2 separate regions of the Homo sapiens genome follow, and region 2 is linked to region 1. The links are contacts of gene promoters, found by promoter capture Hi-C in human tissues and cell types (Jung and others, 2019). All regions are on one chromosome and are shown on one strand. Each heading gives the region's core, a stretch centred on a gene start or on the middle of the fragment in contact. The rest is flanking DNA. Distances are from core to core; before and after follow the strand shown. Region 1 holds the start of RUNX2 (RUNX family transcription factor 2). Region 2 overlaps SUPT3H (SPT3 homolog, SAGA and STAGA complex component).

Evidence for each region. Contacts are between HindIII fragments. The study calls those that stand out against the background at their distance.
Region 2: a fragment that was not itself captured here is called in contact with the fragment with the promoter of RUNX2 in region 1 in 2 of the 25 tissues and cell types used here (mesenchymal stem cells and spleen).

The regions. Positions count from the first base shown.
Region 1 is chr6:45,325,092-45,331,859 of GRCh38, reverse strand. RUNX2 (RUNX family transcription factor 2) reads right to left here and starts at 3,530. Exons shown (of 9, transcript NM_001024630.4): 1 at 3,400-3,530; 2 at 3,076-3,199. The coding sequence starts at 3,133. All of the region lies in intron 2 of SUPT3H (SPT3 homolog, SAGA and STAGA complex component), which reads left to right. RefSeq lists an enhancer at 3,761-3,801, a promoter at 3,208-3,848 and a cis regulatory region at 4,806-4,812. The HindIII fragment of the contact is 4,056 bases long and covers 1,056-5,111 here.
Region 2 is chr6:45,243,561-45,250,328 of GRCh38, reverse strand. All of the region lies in intron 2 of SUPT3H (SPT3 homolog, SAGA and STAGA complex component), which reads left to right. Among named protein-coding and RNA genes, the nearest start is that of MIR586, 49 kb to the right of the region's middle. The HindIII fragment of the contact is 3,328 bases long and covers 2,375-5,702 here.

The DNA.
Region 1 (6,768 bases), core at 2,281-4,780:
TCAGTTGTTAGCTGGAAGAGAGTAATTGAATAAATTAATATTTTGTTCTTTTAAGATAACTAAAATATATCATAATGTAATCATGTATATTTCATGCCTTGTGATATAGAGACGGATTGATCAGGAGAGTCAGACAGACCAGCCAGATCTTTTTCCACAATTTCTTTTCAGTGTTTTAGATTTCAAAACATTTTTTAAAAATAAAAACTAAAAATCTTTAACAGTTTGTAATGTAAAATTAGGATTATTATAATTTAAAATAATTTATATGAGTCTTTGGGAATTACTTTGACATTTTTAGCTTTTGATATGTGTTAGAGTGATTTTCTGTGTTTGTTCTTAACTTTGTAATTCTGCTCCCTAGTTTTGGAATTTAGCTCTGTATTTTAAAAAGAAGCTATAAAACTTTGTCACTACTGAATCTTGAAACTATAAATATATTATTGATATGGACCACAATTGCTGTTTTGGAAATCAGTGTTCACACATCATGTTCAAGCAGTTACAAAGATTTTATGTAGATAATCAGTCAGCTGATATATTTTCATGAGTCATTAATTTTAAGATACTCTATGAGTCACATCTGTGATTTTCAGCAAGCTATATTTATGATAAATGATGGACAGATTTTGAGTAGTACAGATTGAAAATTTTTGATTAACTCAAAGTGAAGTATGCTGAGAGATCAAGGACACAGACATACTCTTTCTCTAGCATGTGCGCGCGCGCGCGCACACACACACACACACACACACCACTCATTGTATTTGAGGTGAAGCAGTTGTTAATGTGTGCTTTGTACCTCACCTAGGAAAATCCTAAACTTTCTTTTTAACTATTTTACAAAATTGGGGCACATACTTAAGACATTTCATTAGGTGGTGGTGATAATCATTATATAAAAATCTAAAGCCTGAAGTGAGGTTTTAGGCTTTGCATAGATTATAGAATGGGGAAATGTTTGCAATGTGATAACATATACATGATGTCCACTACTCACCTGTAATTAGTCTGAGGTAGTGGGTTGATGTTAAGTTCTCTATTCAGGCTTCAAGATACTGTTTGGGGGCTGGCGGGGAGGGAAGGTGCAGCCCACTTTTCAAAAGAGGAAGAACTGGTTGTAATGTTGGAAAAAAAAAAGGTTCACTACCATGCCTTGCTTAGAATCCTGTCAAGTTTTGGAAATTTTGAATAGTTATTAAGAATGTTACAGAAGTATAAGATCCCTGTTATGATAGAATAAGAAGCAGTTTAATATATTCTTTGTGAGAATTTTAACATATTCTTCATGATAACTTTACTTCTAATACTGAAGAATTTTTTGAAACTTGTGTTGTTCCTGATCTGGTTTTTAAAATGTGTTTAAAATAAATAGTTAAACAGAGTGATAACGTGAAAGAGTAACTTAACTGCCTCTGTTATCCCTCCCTGATATCTCTGTTATCCCTGTTTCAAGTTATCCCTCTGTGTAACAGTAGTTTTAACTATTCTTTTTCCTTTTATCTCTTGGGTAGTAGTAACAAAACTTTCGATGTATAAGCTGTAATTATGCTATGTGTTGTAATGTAGTCTAGCTGTGTTTATGTCCTGCTTCCTTAATATAGAAGTTTTTAGAGTAATACTTGGTACCCATCATTAAAATTTTAAATTAATCTGTGATTATTATATTGTATATATTATAACTGAGGGGGCCCACTTACAGCTATTGAGGGAGTCACTAAAGCAATTTTACATTTTTTTTTGTAAAATACAAAGTACATTTCCTCACCCTGTAAGAGAAACCATTTTTTCTCCCTTCAGGTTTAATTATTTCTGTTTGACCTAAACTGAGACTGATCCTCTAGTAGTATCCAGTTAAAATGTGTGAAGTAGGAGGAGTAAAGGAAACTCCAGTCATTAGTTGTAAGTTAAAAGCAGAGTTAATATAGATGTACACAGCAAGAAGGTTTATTTTAATGGATATAAGAAAAATTTTTGAAAACTTGCCTTGTAGTTGGAACATGTTGGAGATCATAAAGAGAATCTTGTAAGTGTGTTTAGATATTTTGCTATAATAACACATCAGCTGATGAATGTTAAAGTCATTTACATATCTGTATCAACAGTAACTTGAAATTAAATATTAAGGGACAAGATTATGCCTACTTCTTTTAAAGTCCAGCATGGTTTAATAGTTGTGGCTTTTAAAAATCATACAGGGTATCCTTATGGAGCTTTATTTTTCATGAGACTAAACAGCAGTTATTCATTTTGGTAGGTCCAAGAATGTGATTAAAAGAATCTTAGACGTTTCAGTGTTTCAGTGTGTTTATAACAAGGTCTATGGATAACAGTGTGTAGATGTAAAATTAAAATTACATAGAAAAATGCAGTTGCATGTAAGTTTTAAAATACTTCCATGAACTTTTTAATATCCTGGGCAACTATAAAGATCTTTTAAAAATGGCTGTGATGTGCTTATCATAATTTTATTTCAGCTGAATGTATACTTATATAAAGTTGTTTAGAAACAAACTTATTTAGATAGGATACAGTTTGAATTTATAAGTAGATTTCTTTTAGTTGAGCTGGTTAAAATGTTAACTGTACTACAGGTTTATTTCTGTGTTATACATGGTAGACCATAATGTTGAGATAATTCTGTGGTCTGTTATTTTGTAAAATTGCTTCCTTTTTGAAGTTTGCTCAAATATTGGGAGCTGCCGGAGTCAATAATTTATAATGCTTTGATTAATTTAGGATCTGACTTTTCTTCTGGTGAGGGTTAATGAGAGTATTAAACTGTTTCTTTTACTGTTTTCATATCCTCACCTCTATAACTCTAGAAAACATTTTGATCAATGTGAGATAATTTAATTTTGTATATTTCAAGTCATTACTTTGAAAATTAGATACATTACAGATACCAAATGCAAATATATACAGAAATTTCATTTTTCAATTCTTAATGCAACAAGATAGCATAATTAGGATCTTTAATATGCTATTTGGAAAAGCTAGCAGTTTATCAAAGAATCATACCTTTATGTTTAACAGGTTCATATCTTACAGGATTTTAAAAATGGTAACACTTACCCCAAAAGAAGTTTTGCTGACATGGTGTCACTGTGCTGAAGAGGCTGTTTGATGCCATAGTCCCTCCTTTTTTTTTCAGATAGAACTTGTACCCTCTGTTGTAAATACTGCTTGCAGCCTTAAACTGAAAATACAAACCATACCCAAACCTTGTTTTAGTTTTACAGTATGCCTGGAGTACATAGACTTTATATTTATTTTTTTCTGTCAAGAAATTATGTAGCTGGTAACATGTGAAAAGCAAAGAAACAAAACAAAAAGAGAATGAGCAAATATTTGAAGGACCTACTATTACTGCATAGACTGTGGTTAGAGAGCACTCACTGACTCTGTTGGTCTCGGTGGCTGGTAGTGACCTGCGGAGATTAACCATTTAAAAACCAGAGACTTCTTGCTGTCCTCCTGGAGAAAGTTTGCACCGCACTTGTGGTTCTGTGGTTGTTTGTGAGGCGAATGAAGCATTCACACAATCCAAAAAAGCAAAAGCTTTAAAACTCCTTTTTTTTGCAAGCACTATTACTGGAGAGGCAGAATCATGTGGTTTGTGACCTCACAGTACTCTTAAGTAAAGTGGGACTGCCTACCACTGTGGCTTTTCCCCCTTGCTCTTTCTCTCTCTCTCTTTCTCTCACAAAAGGCTTGTGGTAAGGCCTTTCCTGGCATCCAGAAGGATATAGCTTTTTAATTTTTGTGACTCATGAGGATTTGGATAGAATACAAATGCTGAAGGAGCCCAAACTCCTGTAAGGTTAAGCATTTGTAGAGCAGAGCTCTGCAGTTAAGGGCTTTCCTTTCTACTCCCCGCTCAACCTCTGCCTTTTTGCCTCCTCTTTTTAGTTCATTATTGTGTCTGTGGAAAAATGAACAAAATTGGCTCAAGAGTCTGTGTGAAATTCTGAACAACAGTGATGATATACAATAATTCACATCTTTGGACTGTATCACATTCTGGGGTCTGCTTCATATTTGCTGGGTGGCTGGATTCCTTCTGTTTTCCTTTTTCTTGTCTTCTTAAACTTGTGAATCTGTAACTCATTGTAAAAAAAAAAAAAGTTTACCTTAAGGTCTGGTTGCAAACTGCTTGCTAGGCTTGACTATAATTGGCTGTCATGAAAGTGTTAGTCTGGGCATTCTTTTACAAATTTTAAATCACGTCTGTCTAGTTTATTATCAATCTATTAGATGGCGGCCTTTACAATAAAGATTAAATGTAATGTTTCATGTATACCATTATCTCATGCCTAGTTTGAAGATCTTAAAAAAATGAATGACAGGGATTGTAATATAGTTTATTGGATGAATCTTAGTTTTCTTTATGATTGTAATATTTTTTGTCTTTCATTGAAGTGTATTCAGTTTATATAGTTCTTTAAGTAGTTTAGACATTAATAGAGTTTCTGATAGCAGATCTTCTATAAAGTAAAATGCTTATGTTATAATGTAGATTGTTCAGTATTTGATTCTATGAGCTTAGAATAGAGTGGGTTAACAGAAGCTATGTATTTTTTTGTTTCTAATGGAAGCTTTGAAATAAATTACAAAATGCTGTGTGTAGTAAGGAATAATGCCCACAGACAGAGTATGTTAGTCGTCTCGATTTGCTAATTCTGATTCAGAAGAAAATTGGAAACATCTTTGGGAAACTATCTCCTTTTTTGCCCCTTTGGACAAGTATGTATAGAACTCATTTTCTTATTAGGATGATTATATATCATAGGCAGTGAATTTTATATTTATGAATAGAGCTTCCTGTTTTCATCAGTTGGGAGCGATGGAGTATTTTTCAACCAAAATTATAAAGGCGAACAGACCAATTTTCTAGGCATTTTTTTGCCATTTATCCATGCCACTCTAAATCTGCATGTTAGACTTCTTCCTAGTGTGACAGTAACTAGGAGTGGCATAAAGTAAATGGGGTGGGCGGAGACAGTGAATTACAAAAGATTATTTGGAATGTGCAGGGAGGTAAGGGCTAGGGAGACAGGAGGGTGTTAGAACTAAAATATCCCTGTGTTCTTCCTAGTGCTATTCATTATCTGCTTTTGGTTCATATTAGATCACAATAACTGTACAAATATGTTCATAAGTTTCTTTACAGAAAATTTGATTTTCCCAAAATACACTGGTAGGGTATGGGAATGATTCTAGTCCTTTATTTTTCAAATGTCCAGAACCTTTTCAGAATAAACTTTTAGTGATAAAAAACCAGAAATACATTTTGGTGTTTTATTTTAACTATGGATTTATCATGCCTTATTGTATGTGTAAACAGATTTTACATTGAAAGGTAAAAGCGTTCATTTAACATGCAGTTATTCATGTGAAGGAGAGAAAAATTATTTTTTCTCTTTTATAAATAAGTCGTATCCATATTATCTGTATCTCTAATTAGTATCCAAAGTAAACAAAAGGAGGGTTTTGTCCTTATAGCTTGTGGGATTTCCAAACATGGTTTCATGTGTACCTATAATAGCAGAATCACTTAATTGAAAATATGTAGGTAGCTGCTGTAGTATGATCAGCAAATGGTTTTCTTCTTTTCAAATAAGCTTATAGTTTCTACATTAGCATTCACTGAAACATCTTACAAACCCAACATTTTGCTATTTTCTTCCTTAAAATCTTCTTTATGTAAACTTTGGCTCTTCAAATTGACCTGATAAGAATTTAAGTAATTTTTAACATCTATTTGTCATTTAATTACCTGTTCACTTTTTGCAGGTAATCCTCCTGCATGTAATTTTTGGACCAGGATTTGAGAGTTTAGTAGATATTGTTATATATGCACTTTTTGTCCTCTGTGAGGCCTATCAAATTCTAGCAGGAGAAAGATAGTGAAATCATGTGCTTTAAGTTAGTATATTCATTATCCACATGAATTTTTTTCCTAAAACGAAAATATATCCTCTTTGGAGCAAATATTACTTTGTTGTAAAAATTTAAAAAACAATGACAACTGGGGCACATTTGATAATTGGTACACATTTGATAACAGTGTGTTTCATTAGAAATAGCTTACTACACGTGGTGAAGAGATACTGATTTAGAAAAGTCAATGCAAATAAAGCTCTTGATTATAGATTTATACCATGGTTATAATCAGAAATTGAAAACCACAGATTTATTTTTATTTTTATTTTTGCTTTTTAAAGACCCATAAAATTTTATCCTCTCTGGGGACATGTTAGTATTTGCTGTTTTGAAGTAAGCAACAAGTTTAGGTATACTGTATAAATCACATACTTTAATGCCATGGAAATGAAATACAGTTTTGATCTTGAAATCAATTTCAAAGAAAAAAAGTTGTTGGTATCTTGCTTCTCCATTGCTTTGTAGTGAATAAAATGTGTTAGAATTGGTTGAACTTTTGAAAATACCAAGGTATTTGTGTTTAAATGCTATGTGTGTCTTCATTGTAACCATTTGAGTAATTTTTTATTTTCTTAACTAATGATCATATTTTAATACATTAGTTTTACTTTATCAATATTGTGCTCATTTCTATGCATTTTTTTAAGGATTATTTTAGACTTATTTGCTGCTAACTCTATTCTTTTATTTGCTGCTCATTCTTTGAAAAACAAAGGAGAAAATGGTTTGATGCAGGAATTTTTAAACTTTAGAAGTCCTAATTTGGCTTAAAATGTTCTGATTATGAGGTTTTACGAAGGAAGTTTTTAACTTATTGTTTCA
Region 2 (6,768 bases), core at 2,789-5,288, 82 kb after region 1:
AAAGAAAAGCCTCTGGGGTCTTTTCATAGATGTAAGATTCTGTCTGCCTTAGATATTTGTCATGATTGCATGAAGTTTTCTTTTACTCCCTTTATTTTTCTGCTGCTTCTGATTTCCTTTTTATCCTTTTTGTTTTGCTCACCATCTTTCATGTCAGAGGCTTTTCCTTATTCTTTGGTGATTTTTGATGCCTGTTCATACTTAAGACCGAGGCATCAAAATGTATTTGAGGTAGACCTTTATTGTAGGATGACCAGGTAGAGATCTGGCTGTTTTTTTGTGCAGGATTCCTCAGTGATAGAATTAACTGTAGATTTTGTTTCTCTTAGACTGAACATTTCTCCAAACAGGAACCTTTTAGTCTTTTGTCTAGGGTTTATAAGCCTGGTTGTAAATACTTTTGCAGCTGAGCAGAAGGGATCTGGTATAAGGTTTGAGGGTGTTTTCTCATAAATTGGTATGTAGATTTTTCTTTTCAGTATGATATATCATCAACCCTTTCCCCTTGGCCCCCACCCCCCCACAGATGTGTTGTTCACAAACACAGCGTTTCTCTGGTGTAACTTCCCCAAAGATGAAAGCTTCAGTGTTTTGCAGGAGTGGTGAAGGAATAGTGGCATGGCTTGAGTGAGGTTGGAAAAGGGATTTGGAGTTCTGTTTCCTTTAACAATTTACAATGTGTTTTGGTTGTCAGTGCCACCGTGGATCCCTGCCTTCAGGTCCCGAACTTTGTCAGAGTTCTGTGGCATACAGCTTCTTGATTGTTGCTGAGTTAATCCCCCTGGGCTTAGGTTTCTATTTCATCGGGTGTGCTTTCTAGCTTCCAAAATGCTATTAACATTTTTTGTGTGCTGTCTTCCTTTCCCTTTTTTTTTTTGTGTGTCTGTTGTTTGTATTCCTTTAGAATTTTTACTAAAATAAAAAGACTAGTAATTTTGCCTTTTTAGTACAGAGAAGAGTTAAATGTCATTTGACTAGATATACTATTTCCTTCTTAAGTTAGAGCATGTAATGTTTGCTTACAGTTTTATCTACATGATAGACAATAAAATGCAATACAGAGAAACTATAAGCAAAATAAAAGAATAATGCTAAGTAAATCTCTGAATGAAATAGTAAATCAGAAAATGAGGGAAGATTAACATATGAATATTAGTCAGGAAACTATTTAAATGAAATATTCTTATATCTGGGAAAGAATAACTGCTATTCTTCAACTCCTTTTTTTGTTGCTAAAAAAGTTTAGAAACGATATCACGTGGTTTCTAAGTGGTAAATTCCTGGGAGTAGAATTCCCAGATTGCATGGTACGTATATACTTAATTTTGTTAGAAACTGCCAAATTTTTTTCCAGAGTGTCCTTTGTATTTCGCATTGCCATCAGTAATGTATGAGAGTTCTTTTTTTTTTTTTTTGAGATGGAGTCTTGCTCTGTCACCAGGCTGGAGTGCAGTGGCGTGATTTCAGCTCACTGCAACCTCCGCCTCTTGGGTTCAAGTGATTCCCCTGCCTCAGCCTCCCAAGTAGCTGGGACTACAGGTGCGCTCCACCATGCCCAGCTAATCTTTTGTATTTTAGTAGAGACTGGGTTTCACCATGTTGACCAGGGTGGTCTCGATCTCCTGACCTCGTGATCTATCCACCTTGGCCTCCCAAAGTGCTGGGATTACAGGCAAGAGCCACGCCTGACCAATGTATGAGAGTTCTAATTCTTCCACATCCTCTTTGGCACTTCGCATTGCCAGTTTTTTCTCTTTTTTTGATTTAGCCATTCTAATAGGTGTGAAGATGTGTCATACTATGATTTTCTTTTGCATTTCCTAGTGACTAATGATGTTGATGGCTTATTTGCTATCTGTAAACCTTCCTTGGTGAAGTATCTGCTCAGCATTTTCCTTTTTTATTTACTGGATAATTTTTCTTATTTTTTTTATTTGGAGAGCTTTTTATACATTCTGGATACCAGTCCTTTAGAAGTCCTTTGTCTCATATGTAATTTGAAATATTTTCTCCCATGGAAATATGTAGCTTTTCATTTTTCCAACAGCATCTTTGGCAGAGCAAAAGCTTTTAATTTTTATGAAATTCAATTGGTCATTTTTTCTTTTATATATCATGGTTTTGGTATTATATCTAGGAACTCTGTACATAAACAAATGTCACAAAGATTTTCTTCAGTTTTTTCTCTAAGTGATTCGTAGTTTTTTTGTATAGGTTTTTTTCTGTTTTATATTTAAGTCTGTGATTCATTTTGAATTACATTTGTATAAGTTGTAAAGTATGGGTCAATATTCATTTTTTCTGCATATGGGTGTCCTGTTATTCTAGCACTATTTGTTGACAAGTAAGTCTGTCATTTCTCCAATGAATTACTTTGCATCCTTGTGAACAGTCAATTGACTATATTTCTTTGGGTTTATTTCTGCACCTTCTATTCTGTTCCACTGATTTTTGAGTCTAACATTTCTCCATTACCACACTGTCTTGATGACTGTAGCTTTGTAATAAGTCAGAAAATGTCTTAGAGTGAATTCTTTTTGTTCTTCTTTTTCAACATTTTTGGCTCTAGTTCTTGTTTTCTTACCTTTTTTGTATGAAAGTTAGAATTGGGTTTCTATGTCTACAAAAAAAAAAAAAATGGAAAAAGAATCCAGTAGAGTCTGGAGGCATCTAGATTTAAGCTTCCAAAGTTCTCCCTATTGAGAGTGGTAGGCACAAAGAACACACTTCTTCCAGCAGTGAATTGTAGTAATGCATGTGCATTGTTTCTATCTAGAAAGCCCCCTTAAGACTTAAGAGTTTTTTTATTAAGGGTTGGTCATGTAGGCACATGGTACCTGCATGACTAGCCATAACTAGTAAAATACTTGACTCCAAGAAAGAGAACAGGTCTTTATAATAAATCACAGTGTTTCTACAAAAGACCTAGATTAAGCTGGTATGTCAGGGTTTTGTGCCCAAAACAGGCAAAATAACCATGTTACATGGGAACACCCCAAAGGCCAAGTTTTTACATGCCAGCTGAAGGCCAGCTCTGCAGTCAGGCTCCCCAAAAGATAGCAGAAGGGCTGCTCAACTCTTTCCTGAAAAATATAGGGCTATTCCAGTTGTCTCTTTCTACTTCAGTGAATTTTGGTAGTTTGTATGTTTCAAGGAAATCATCAATTTCTTTTAATTCGTCAACGTTATTATCAGAGATTTGCTTATAGTATTCCTTTATTATCCTTTTAGCATCTGTGGGATCCATTGGGATAGCTCTTCTTGTACTTTGTGCTTGGACTGGCTGGAAAATTATCAATTTTAAAGTTTCTACTTTTATTGATTTTACTCTGTTTTCAATATCATTGATTTCTGTCTCAATTATATCTTTCCTTCTGCTTACTCTAGGATTACTTCTTATCTTTTTAGTTTCTTAAGAGGGAAGGTTTGGTTATTGACTTAAGACCTTCTTTTCTAATATGTGTAATTAATGCTGTAAGTTTTCCTCTTAGCACTGCATTAGGTGTATCTTACAAATTTTGATATGTTGTATTTACATTTTCATTTAGTTAAAAATATGTGTAAATCCCCTTAAGACATCTGCCTTGACCCGTGAATTGCTTAGATACGTGTTTTACAATTTCTGATTACTTGGGGGATTTCACAGGTACCTTCCTTTTGTTGATTTCTAGGTTATTTATGGTCAGAGAACATACTTTGTAAGAAGTAATAGCGTCTTATTTTCCTATTTTGAATCTGCATTACTTTCTATTTTTTACATGCTAGTAGGAGTTAAATATTGATTCTTAAGAGCAAATGCTTTTCATAATTTGGAGAAAACAAACCATGGGACTGATAATTTTAACTTAGTGCAAAGTTGCACTCTACTTCCTGTTACGATGATGGTTAAAAGTTCACCTGTGTTGATAAAAGACCTGAATGTAAGAGCTCAATCTGTAAAACTCTTAAAGGAAACATAGTGAAGAAGCTTCAAGACATTGAATTTGGCAGTGATTTCTTGGATATTATACTAAAAACACAGGTAACGAAAGAAAAATAAAAAATTAGACATCATTAAAATTTAAAAGTTTTGTGCATCAAAGGACGCTGTCAAGAGAGTGAAAAGGAAATCCACAGAATGGGAAAATATTTCTAAATCATATGTCTGATAAGGGGTTAATATCCAGAATACATAAAGAACTCCCAAAACTCAACAGAAAAACTCCCAAACAACCCAATTAAAAAATGGGCAAAAATGTTGAATAAACATTCTCCAAAGAAAATATACAGGTGGCCAATTAGAATATGAAAATATGCTCTATATTACCAGTCCTTAGACAAATGCAAATCAAAACCACAATGAGTTACCATTTCATACCCATTAGAAAGGCTATTTATTAAAAAAACAGTGTTGGCAAGGATATGGACAAATTAGAACACTTCTGCATGGCTGGTAGGAATTTAAAATTGTTGAACTGCTGTGAAAAATGGTATAGTGGTTCTTCAAAAATTAAACAGAATTACCACATGATCCAGCTATTGTATTTCTGGTTATATACCCAAAAGAATTGAAAGCAGAGTATCAAATGGATATTGGTACACCAGTGTTTGTAGCAGCATTATTCACAATATCCAAAAGGTGGAAACAACCAACATGTCCATCAGTGGATGAATGGATAAAAAAATGTGGTACCTACATGAAATGGAATATTATTTAGTTTTACAAAGGAATTAAATTTTGAACTTCTTGCGTCATGGATAATTTTAGAAAACATTAGGCTAAGTGAAATAAAGCAGACCTAAAAGGACAAATGTTATGCGATTCCACTTATATGAGGTACCTAGAATGGTCAAATTCATAGTGACAGAAAGTAGATTACCAGGCGCTAGAGGAGGGGGAATTTGGAGCTTTTGATTAATAGGTGTGGAGTTTCAGCTTGGTATGATAGAAAATTTCTGGTTATGGATAGTGGTGATGTTTGCTCAATAATGTGAATGTACTTAATGTCACTGAATTTTAACCTTAAGAATGGTTACAATAGTAAATTTTATGTTATGAATATTTTACCACACAAAGAAAAGTTCACTTGTATTTTAATTGTTTGGAACTCAGAATACACATTACCTTGGTAATGGTATTATTTAGGGACTTAAATTCCCAGATTAACCAAAATAGATATTCTTGAAAAAACATGTGAAATATCTGAAATACTACACATTTGCAATGAAAAACTTGTAGAAAATATTTATGATCTTACCAATCAAAGCATTACCAATCTTAAAAAATGATTTTTACAAAATCTTTTAATGCTCGAAGGTAAAGCTAGTTTTACTGTGGAAGAGTTTGTAAATAATGAAATGGGAATTTTAGGTGCATTCATAGATATTTAGTAACTGGTTGTATTTATTATGTCAAATTGCAGCTCAAATAATAAGATTTTTCATTTATTTAGTATAGATTTATAAGACATCTATATTATAAGCACATAGAAAACTTTATTCTCAAGAAATTTAACCCTCAGAATGAAAAGTGCTGAAATATTGGAATGGAGAAGGGAATGAACATGTGTATTTTAGAAGATAGGGAAGTAGGAATTAGGTTAATGTGAAAGAGAATGTTGGGTGTGGAAGAGATAGAAGTTTACTGAGGTGTAATAGCAACAGGTAATGAGTTAGAAAATTACATGCAATTAAACTCTAAACAGTGTTAAACAGGTAGAGATGATAGGCAAGAAAATTGGGTAAAATTAGTGTAGAAGGTATTAACCAGGAAGAATTTAGTATTGTGTGGACAGCACCAGTTTTCAGGAAAAGGTAGTGGGGTTGTTTGTTTAAAATGTTCACTTATACAAGAGTACTGTTTTGTGTAAGATTTAAATAATGAAGGAGAGCATAAGATTGGAAAATTTTCCTAAAGCTATTTGGGAAAAATAATGATTTAAAAATGAGATGAATAATGAAATTATTATTAAGGATATAAATAAGGTGTGGCTAATAGGTTTTATCTTTATATGCAGCTCCCCTTGGTTGCTTGAAATGTTTGAGAAGAACTGTGGGAGCGTATCTAGGCTTTAGTAGGAAAAAGATTTGTGATTGGTTGTAATGGCTCCTATAGGTGAATTACGGAGGCCGTGCCATCTCTGATCTAAATGGTAATCAGCCAAAAGCAAAACAGCCAGATGCCATGGCTCATGCCTGTAATCCCAGCACTTTGGGAGGCCAAGGATCACTTGAGCCCAGGAGTTTGAGACCAGCCTGGGCAACATAGTGAGACCCTGTCTCTACAAAAAATAGAAAAAAATTAGCCAGGTGTGGTGGCACATGCCTGTCTTCCCAGCTACCCAGGAGGGCAGATGTGGGAGGATGACTTGAGCCCAGATGTTGAGGCTGCAGTGAGCCATGATCACACCACTGCACTCCAGCCTGGGTGACAGAGTGAGACCTTGTCTCAAATAAAATTAAATGAACAAATAGTAAATTAAAAATATAAAACAGATCGGGTATATTGTAATCTGATACAGGGGAAATACAGGCAACAGTATTAGTGCAAAGAAGGAGAACTGCTCTTTGTAATTCAGAATGATATTTATTGGAAAATTTTTACTTAGTAGTTTAGTATCTTTAATACATATAGGGCTATTCAGATTTTCAAAGTTTTATACCATTTTTGGTAGTGTCTTTCAAGGAGTTTGTCCATCTCATCTCAGTTGTTGAATTTATTGGCATAAAGTAACTCAAAATATTACCCTATTATCATTTCAGTGTTTGTAGAATATATAGTTATGCCTC